3 separate regions of the Homo sapiens genome follow, and regions 2 and 3 are each linked to region 1. The links are contacts of gene promoters, found by promoter capture Hi-C in human tissues and cell types (Jung and others, 2019). All regions are on one chromosome and are shown on one strand. Each heading gives the region's core, a stretch centred on a gene start or on the middle of the fragment in contact. The rest is flanking DNA. Distances are from core to core; before and after follow the strand shown. Region 1 holds the start of PJA2 (praja ring finger ubiquitin ligase 2). Region 2 overlaps FER (FER tyrosine kinase). Region 3 has its middle 100 kb from the start of LINC01023.

Region 1 (2,700 bases), core at 121-2,620:
ACACTAAACTGTCAACTTTACACTGGAGTGGGACTGGGGGATGAAAAGAAATATTTAAATTTTACCTAACAGTCCGTTATTTATATTGTTGAAGTGTACATCAAACTTGCATGTCTGCAATGAATTTTTAAAATTAAGTGGTCATCTCATATAAAAATGACATGAACCCCAAAAGACAATTACAACACTGAAAAATACAGTTTAAACGTTTATTACTGTTATCCTCAGGTTTATTCACATACACTTCAAATGATCCGTAGCCTTCAGCAAAGGTGACTGCCATTTTAAAGAAATGTGACCAAATATTTCATGATAAAACAGAATACATTAAGCCTGCAATGAAAATTTTAAACTTCACAGAACCAGCAGACTCAAAAGAAGCGCCTATGCGGATGTAAATTTTTTTTTTTTTAATGTCCGGAGAAGGAACTCTCAGATTACTCTCCTCCCTGCAAAACGACTATTTACCACCTCCCCTTTGCTTCAACTTGGTCTGAGCGTCTTTAACCTCACCATTTTGAATGTGCGCAAAATGATTACCAGTCATCTGAGGGAGGCCAAATTAAAGGTGCATCTGCAAGAGGAGCTCTGGCCTGACATCGCTAACTGAGAGCAGCCCTGGCGGAAAGGTGCTGATCCCGGGAGTAGAGCGACTGCTGCGGCTCGAGCGGGGTGTCTGCGTGCCGAGCCTCACTGACAATCGGGGAAAATGCAGACGCCCAGCAAAACGACGGCAACAGAAGGCTCCTCGGGGGAGGGGTGCTGCAGGCCTGTGGCGTAAGATGGTTCCGCTCTACGCGGGGTGACGGGAAACCGCAGAAGGTGGGTGTGAGGTGTTGGTTGGGGGGCAAACTCTTGTACAGTGGCGAGTGTAGGGGAAAGCCAGCGGGCTCCTTGGCCAAGTCACCAAGGACAGCAGAAGAGGCAGCAGTAAAGAGCGGCAGCGAAGACCCCGATACCAACCAATGTCATCTGTCGGGGGGCGGCGGGCGCGACCGTCCCGGATAGGAGCGCGGCCCGGGTCCGGGCTGGACAGGGCCCAGGAGGCGAAGAAGGCCTCCCACAGCCATCAACCCCACCCACCATGGCCGGCGCAGCAGGCCAGGGACAAGCCCCGCTCCTTCCGAAGCTAGAGACAGAGAAACTGAGGAGCTGAACGCAGCAATTTCCTCGCCCCGACCCCCACACTCCCGACAGCGGAACAAGCCAGACTGAAAAAAAAAAAAAAAAACCCTCACCGAAATGTGCAGCGGCTCCGGAGCGAGAACAGCGCTCGAACCTCCACCCGCCACCACCGCCTTCTTCTCCGCCTCCAACTCCTCCCCCGCCGAACGCGAAGCGGCTGGCGGCTGTGGCGGCGGCGGCGGCGGTGGCGGCGGCGGAAGCAGAGGCGGTGGCGGTGAGTCCCGCCCCTTGCGCCGCGGTGGAGGCGAAGGAGGAGAGTACGCAAGCCCCTCCCCCATAGCAGAGATGACCAGTCAGCTTACAGGGTCTCTGCTGGGGGACAATGCATACGCCCAATCAGAACCTGAGGAGTGGGCTCACGTCAATGGTTGGGACGTGGCAGAAAAAGGGAAAAATACTTGGACCTTCTCTACAGCCTGCTCCCCCATCTCCCTCAGGGGGAGTTCACCAATTGGCTGAAGAGCGGAAAGACGAAGCCGACTCAGTCCCCCGCCCCAGCCGAGCCCACCTCCTTTCCCTGCAGTACTGCGACGTTTGGGGAGGGGGCGGAGCACCGTGTAGGAGCTAAAACTGCGCGGCCTTTTGTGGTTTGGGCTGAGAGAAAAGGGCGGGGTCTCGGAAAGGGAAGGGGGTGTGGAGAACTAACAGAAAGACTGGCGCAGTTAGGCTTTTTCGGAAATTCCAACAGCAACAACCAAAATGGAGGCATTAAAATCGATCCTGATTCGACTGGAAACCTGATTAACAAGGTTAAGGTCTCCTGGCATAAAGTTCAGTTACAATGCAGATATCGGTGAGACAAAAAAAAAAAATGACACGAAGAAAGGCTTGTTTACCCACCCTGACCCTGGGCACTATATGGCGCTTTCCACCCTCCCTCTCCGCGCTGACCCTTGCCCCTCGCTTCTTATTCTGCTGGGGCGGGGTTCAGAGGAGGCCTGCCTTTCCTCTGTATAGCCTTGGGCTGACCACAGCCTCCCAGCTTGCATCTTGAGGCTGTTTGTCAAGCCGGGAAGTAACAGCTCCCATCACATGCAACCAAAATAAATACAACAGCTGCAGTCCCCGGACACCTTGCTTAATTTAAACCTGGGTAACAGTTTAGTTAATTATGTCAGTGATACAAAACTGTTTCTTCGTTCCGCACATATTCCCTTTATTCATCTTGAAACGTGTCCGCTTATCTGATTACAGTCCCTCTGTCTTCTCTTATTCCCCACCCCCGACCCGTCGCCTGATGCCCAGGATATATTCATCGCCACCCCTCCCCCGCGAATTAAGAGCCCCACTTCTTGTGCTGTCCCCTTAACAACAGCGAACTCTCTTGCCAGTGAACTGAGACTAATTTTTTTTTGCTGTTGATGGAAATAAATTACCCAAAATTTACTGTAGAAATTTAGGTTTATGAGAATTTGCCAGACATTTTGTGAAATCCAATCTGAATCCCAGCCCACTCCTGTAGTACGTTTCTTACCAAAAAACCATTCCTTGCTTGATATTACTCTGCCTTCACAC
Region 2 (2,832 bases), core at 127-2,626, 650 kb before region 1:
CACTCAACATAAATTTGAAATCTCCTACCTACTTCATACTTACCTTTTTCTGCTTTTAAAAATAGTGCTTATTACTACCTAACACTGTGTATTTTACTTACTTATTTTGTATTTTGTTTGTTTCCTCTTTCTAGAATATAATCTCCAGGAAGGCAAGAATTTTTACCTGTTGTATAGGAAAACTCATGGCACACAGATAGCATAGTAGGCTTTCAGCAAATATTTGTTGAACGAATTAATAAATAAGAAAAAAAAAATGTGTCGTTGCCTCACGTAACCATTAACTCTGAAACTCTGAAGGGACTTAGAATACCCTGTTTGCAAACAAGCAAGTTACCTTGCCATACTTTTATATACATACATTAATAGAAGAGCCCTGGGTCAGAGACTCAGAGGGTTTATTGCAGTAAAAGCAGTGGCCAGAGAAATATCTTAGTGCTAGTTCTCCCTGCCCCATCTCTGTGACAAAACAATGTGATGAGGGCCAGGTGTTTACCTACACATGCAGCAGATTTGCATCATAGGAGAGGAGCCTTGAAATGAGGAGACTCCAAGCTTGTATAGGGTGTTGGCACATCTGCCATCCTCCCCTGCAGAGCGAGAGAGAGATTACTTATTAAACACATCGCTTCCAGAGGAGAGGGAGAAGGTATCTTTAGGTTTCTTACCCTAGAATATAAGTAAATGTTTCCAGGGAGGGGAAGGAGAAGGCTTAATTTCTCCAAAGCTCTTTGGAGTTTTCTATCTTTAGGGAGATACTGTCTCTAGCTTCCAAGGCTGTCTGTTATGCAAATATCCATTTGTAGTACATTTTGGTCAGAAGATTCTGTGCAGGAACATGAGAAATGCAGAGTGAATTGTTTCCCAGCAGTAATTCTGAATTCCAGCAGCTATATCTATTTACATCTGAACTCATATATAGGGGCAAAATATTTTCAGACATTTCTCCGTTTCTCTTCTCTTGGTTCTTTGTTTGGGTTGCTTGATTGTCTAGTAGGTACTTATCATCATCTTTCAGTTTAGCAACCTTGGCTGAAAGATGACTTTCCTTCCTGATTAGCTTCTGCAAAAATGTTGGGATTCAGTATTATCTGTTCAATTTGGGTAACATACCTATTCCTAAACTACTGCTTGCGAGAAGGAATATGCTGATTTCCCAGACCCAGGTTATGTTCCTACCCCAGAAACATTAGAGTGCTGGTGATCAATGCCACCCAAACCGTGTGGATTGATGATAAGAGAAGGATAGTTTGGGAAAAGAAAATTAAGATGCTGCTACCAACAGAAGGGGAGATAGATGCTTCAGAGTAAAAAACAACACAGGTCTATTACTTACATGCACATGCAACTCACAATCATTTAAAAAAATATAATCTTACTGTATATAGATATAACTACTTCATTTATTTTTTACCTACCACATATCATGAACAAGAAATTTTCTTTGAAAACAATTTTATTTTATTTTTTAAATTTAATTTTATTATTTATTTATTTATTTTTGAGACGAAGTTTCACTCTTGTTGCCCAGACTGCAGTGCAGTGACGCCATCTTGGCTCACTGCAACCTCTACCTCCCGTGTTCAAGCGATTCTCCTGCCTCAGCCTCCCAAGTAGCTGGGATTACAGGCATGCGCCACCATGCCCGGCTGATTTTGTATTTTTAGTAGAGATGGGGTTTCTCCATGTTGGTCAGGCTGATCTTGAACTCCTGACCTCAGGTGATCCACCCACCTTGACCTCCCAAAGTGCTGGGATTACAGGCATGAGCCACTGCACCTGGCCGTGGAAACATAATTTTAAATGGTTGTAAAATTATACTTAAATTCTTTGTTTAAAATAAATATTTAGTTTATCAGAATTGGATTTTGAAAAACTAAGGGGATATTTATTAGAGAAGTGGGGAGAGTAGAGATGGGAAAGAGAAGTAGAGCCAGGACTAGGGTAAGGCAAGAGAGTTGCCTAGGACACAAAATATGAGACATAATCACTTTTAGGGTCATGCAGCTGCAGGGTGGCACTTGCATGATCCTGAGAGTATCTCCTTAAATTTTGCGCCCCAGGTATTTCTTTTGCATCACCCTAGTCCCATTTGTGAAGACAAGCATATTTCAGGGAATAGGAACTATTTTTTGGCTATGAATGTGCGTTAGAGATGAAAGTATGTGTAATTGAGGAAGTTCTTGGGGAAGATTAAGGTGCATTAGAAAGCAGTCATTATGCATTTTCAACTGTTATGTATGGAAACGTTTGCTGAGTCTGGTAAGCATGATAATACCTTTGAAGTAACGCAAGGAATATAATTTTTTTGATTCATAGGTTTATAGTAGTTTGAATTTTAAAAAGTTCCATTTAGAGATGCCACCAAAAAAAGTTGTTACTTTTAACCCAAATCTTTTCAATATCAAAGAAAAATGCTTTTTGTTTCATTGGAAAATAAAAATTATAGAAAAGACTGAGTTAGAGATTGAGACACAATACATGGGTCCTGTGACTAGCTTACTTTCTTTTCTCTTTTCTTTTTTTTTGACAGGGTATTGCTCTCTTACCCATGCTTGAGTACAGTGATGTGATCACAGCTCATTGCAGGCTTGACCTCCTAGGCTCAAGTGATCCTTCTGCCTCAGCCTCTTGAGTAGCTAGGACTACAGTGGGCTAGCTTTCCTGAGCAAGATACTTGACACTGCTCAATATTGGGCATGGAATCTCAGTTGAATAGTTGTCTTTCTTGAACTTAGGTCTGTGGAAATAACCATTTCCATAGCAAAGTGAGAGACTAGAACAGGGAATTCTAAATAATGCAACTATCTTTGCTGATAGAGAAGAGAGTTT
Region 3 (2,808 bases), core at 241-2,740, 780 kb before region 1:
CCCATAGCCTTTGTTACAATCTTTTGTTATAATTTTGGGGTGTTTTAGGCTTCAGGAGCAGGCCCCAGGAAACAGAATCTCTCTCTCTAATTTTATCCTGGCCTCCTTTTACCTGCTCAAAACAGGACTCTAATCTAATTGTGGGTCAAAAGACCCTTATTCCAGAGAGGGTCCCACCCCATACTCTGGAGGAAGGAATGCTGCACAGAATGGACAAGAAGAATCTGAACAGACAGGTCTTGCTGAGTTTCCCCACTCAGTCTTCTAGTATGAGATCATACTCTTGTCCAGTCACATGTCTATGAAGTTGTCAATCATGCCTATGTAATGAAGCCTCCATAAAAACCCAAAAGGACAGGGTTTGGTGAGCTTCCAGATAGCTGAATACATGGAGGTTCCTAGAGGGTGGTGCTCCCAGGGAGGGCATGGAAGCTCCACACACCTTCCCCTCCTCTCCTTATGTATCTCTTCATCTGTAGCCTTTGTAATATCCTTTATAATAAACCAGTAAATGTAAGTGTTTCCTTGAGTTCTGTGAGCCACTCCAGCAAATTAATCAAACCCAAAGAGAGGGTCGTGGGAAGCTTAACTTGAAGCTTGTTGGTCAGAAGTTCCAGAGGCCAGGACTTGAGACTGGTATCTGAAAGTGGATATTCTTGGGGACCGAGCCTTCAACCTGTGAGATCTGATGTTATCTCCAGGTAGATAGTGTCGGAACTGAATGGGGGGACACCCAGTGCTGTCCACTGGGGAACTGATTGCCCACTTGGTGGTGGGGAGAGCCTTCTCACACACACATTTGGTCCCAGAAGTCTTCTATGTTGATGATTTTTGTGGTGTGAGAGCAGAGAAAACACCATAAAATATTAGAGTTTTTCCCAATTTGCATTATTCTTTACATAATCTGGCTTTAAGTCCTTGGTTGGTTATCTGTATTACAAATATCTTCCCTATATGATGGGTGGTAGTTTTACCCATTTAATGGTGTCCTTTAATACACAGTGCTTGAAGTTCAATTTATCAATCTTTTTCTTTATATGGTTAAGAAATTTTGCCCATGTCACAGTCATGAAGAAATTCTCCTACATTTTCTTCTAGAAACTTTGTTTTACCTTTCACATTTGGATCTGCAACCCATTTAGAATTTATTTTTTTGTATGGTGAGAGGTGGGGCACAAATTTATTTTTCCCATCTGGGTATCTACTTGATCCAACACCAATTATTAAGAAGATTATTCTTTCCCCACTGCACTGCAATGTCATCTTTGTCATAAATCAGGTAACCATATATGTTTAGGCCTATTTCTGGACTTTCTTTTCTCTTCCATTGCTCTATTTGTCAATTCTTATGCCACTACCATACTGTCTTAATTATTACAGCTCTTGGTATCTGATAATACAAGTCCAGCAGCTTTGTTTTTCTTTAAGATTGCCTTAGCTATGCTTGGCTCTTTGCCTTTCCATCTAAGTTTTAGAATTTGATTGCCAATTTCCAAAACAAAAATTTTGCATGGACTGTCATTTAAATTTGATTGCATTTTTAAAGGTAGTGTTCTCTTTTCACCTGTTTTTTTAGGTGAAACATTTGTTGAGCCTCTTTGTATACTTTTTCCTACAGTGGAGACTGGTGGAAGTTGAAGTGGTTTTGAAATATTTTTGTGTTTAACTGTGTTCAGTTAAAATATAACTATCCTAGAACAGAGATATTATTCAAGTAAAACCCACTGAATCATATTAATCCTGACCTTACCTCTCCACTCTGAGTGGAGACATTTTCTATACAGAATAGTCAAGGCAAATAATGGTGAGCGAGAAAAGAGAATCAGAGTTCACATGAAACTTGCTAAAATCAGACGATCTCTGCAATTCCAATCAATATATTTTTCTTCCTTTCATTTTGCTCCTTTACATTGTGTTGAAAGGTAACAAAAGTAAGCTGTGTCTCTGCATTATCACTTGTTTTGGAGGTCATGGCTACTGTCAACTTCTCTGGGGAACAGTCCCTCATCTGTACCGCTGTTCTGTATTATTATGGCCTGTGCATCTTCACTTTCTCTTTCCTCTTCATTTTCACATTTCACTTGCTGCTCCTCAGTTTGCTCTGTGTCATTTCAGTGTTGTGTCTGAGTGACAAATGAGTGTTCAACCCTCTTTCTTTTCATGAGATTGTTATAGTCTCTAAAAAACCAAGTGCCATAGTACGCTTGTGAAACTGATGGTGATGCTGTCAAGCCTAAGAAAATTTCTGTCTACAAGAGAATATAGAGAATAAATCTTTGTCAACAGGCTTCCCTGTCCATTAGATTGAGAATTTCATGCCAGCCACATTTAAAATCTTGTATGGTATTAATACTAATCAGTGTTTATTAACATTCAGACATGTTCACAACTGTTGTAGCAGCTGAGTGTCTGTAAGTTAAATTGATTTTAGTCCTTAGATATCAATTAACAGCACTGCTTCACATTTTCATAATGAAATACAGTTGTTTGGGGGTGTTTATGAAATGACATCCATTTGATTTATAAGTAACCTTGACTAGGAAGTCTCTGTGTGTTAGAATGTAAATGATCACCTCCCCCACTTTGATTGCCACATTGCAGCTGTATATTCCCATTTCCAAACAGTAAGAGACAAAGATCTGGAAACACAACAAAGTTAGAGTCTGTCAGCCCACAGCAGGTAGCGAAGATAGTGTTCAGACTAGCTTTTAACCAGACCAACCATGAGTCCGCTAAGGGGACTGTGTGAGGATGTAGTGAAGAAACCTCAGGAGGTGTTCTGAATTCAAAAGAAGAAGAAAAATCAGG

What was found. The method cuts DNA at HindIII sites, captures the fragments that hold promoters and counts their contacts. A contact is called where the count stands out against the background at its distance.
Region 2: a contact is called between a fragment that was not itself captured here and the fragment with the promoter of PJA2 in region 1, in 2 of the 25 tissues and cell types used here (hippocampus and spleen).
Region 3: a fragment that was not itself captured here is called in contact with the fragment with the promoter of PJA2 in region 1 in 2 of the 25 tissues and cell types used here (dorsolateral prefrontal cortex and lymphoblastoid cells).

What each region holds. Positions count from the first base shown.
Region 1 is chr5:109,408,604-109,411,303 of GRCh38, forward strand. PJA2 (praja ring finger ubiquitin ligase 2) reads right to left here and starts at 1,371. Exons shown (of 10, transcript NM_014819.5): 1 at 1,239-1,371. RefSeq lists enhancers at 456-555, 596-715, 1,826-2,005 and a silencer at 1,236-1,315. The HindIII fragment of the contact is 22,167 bases long and covers 1-2,700 here.
Region 2 is chr5:108,762,912-108,765,743 of GRCh38, forward strand. The region is part of intron 1 of FER (FER tyrosine kinase); the gene reads left to right. Among named protein-coding and RNA genes, the nearest start is that of FER, 16 kb to the left of the region's middle. The HindIII fragment of the contact is 7,509 bases long and covers 1-2,832 here.
Region 3 is chr5:108,623,762-108,626,569 of GRCh38, forward strand. No RefSeq gene overlaps it. Among named protein-coding and RNA genes, the nearest start is that of LINC01023, 100 kb to the right of the region's middle. The HindIII fragment of the contact is 5,216 bases long and covers 1-2,808 here.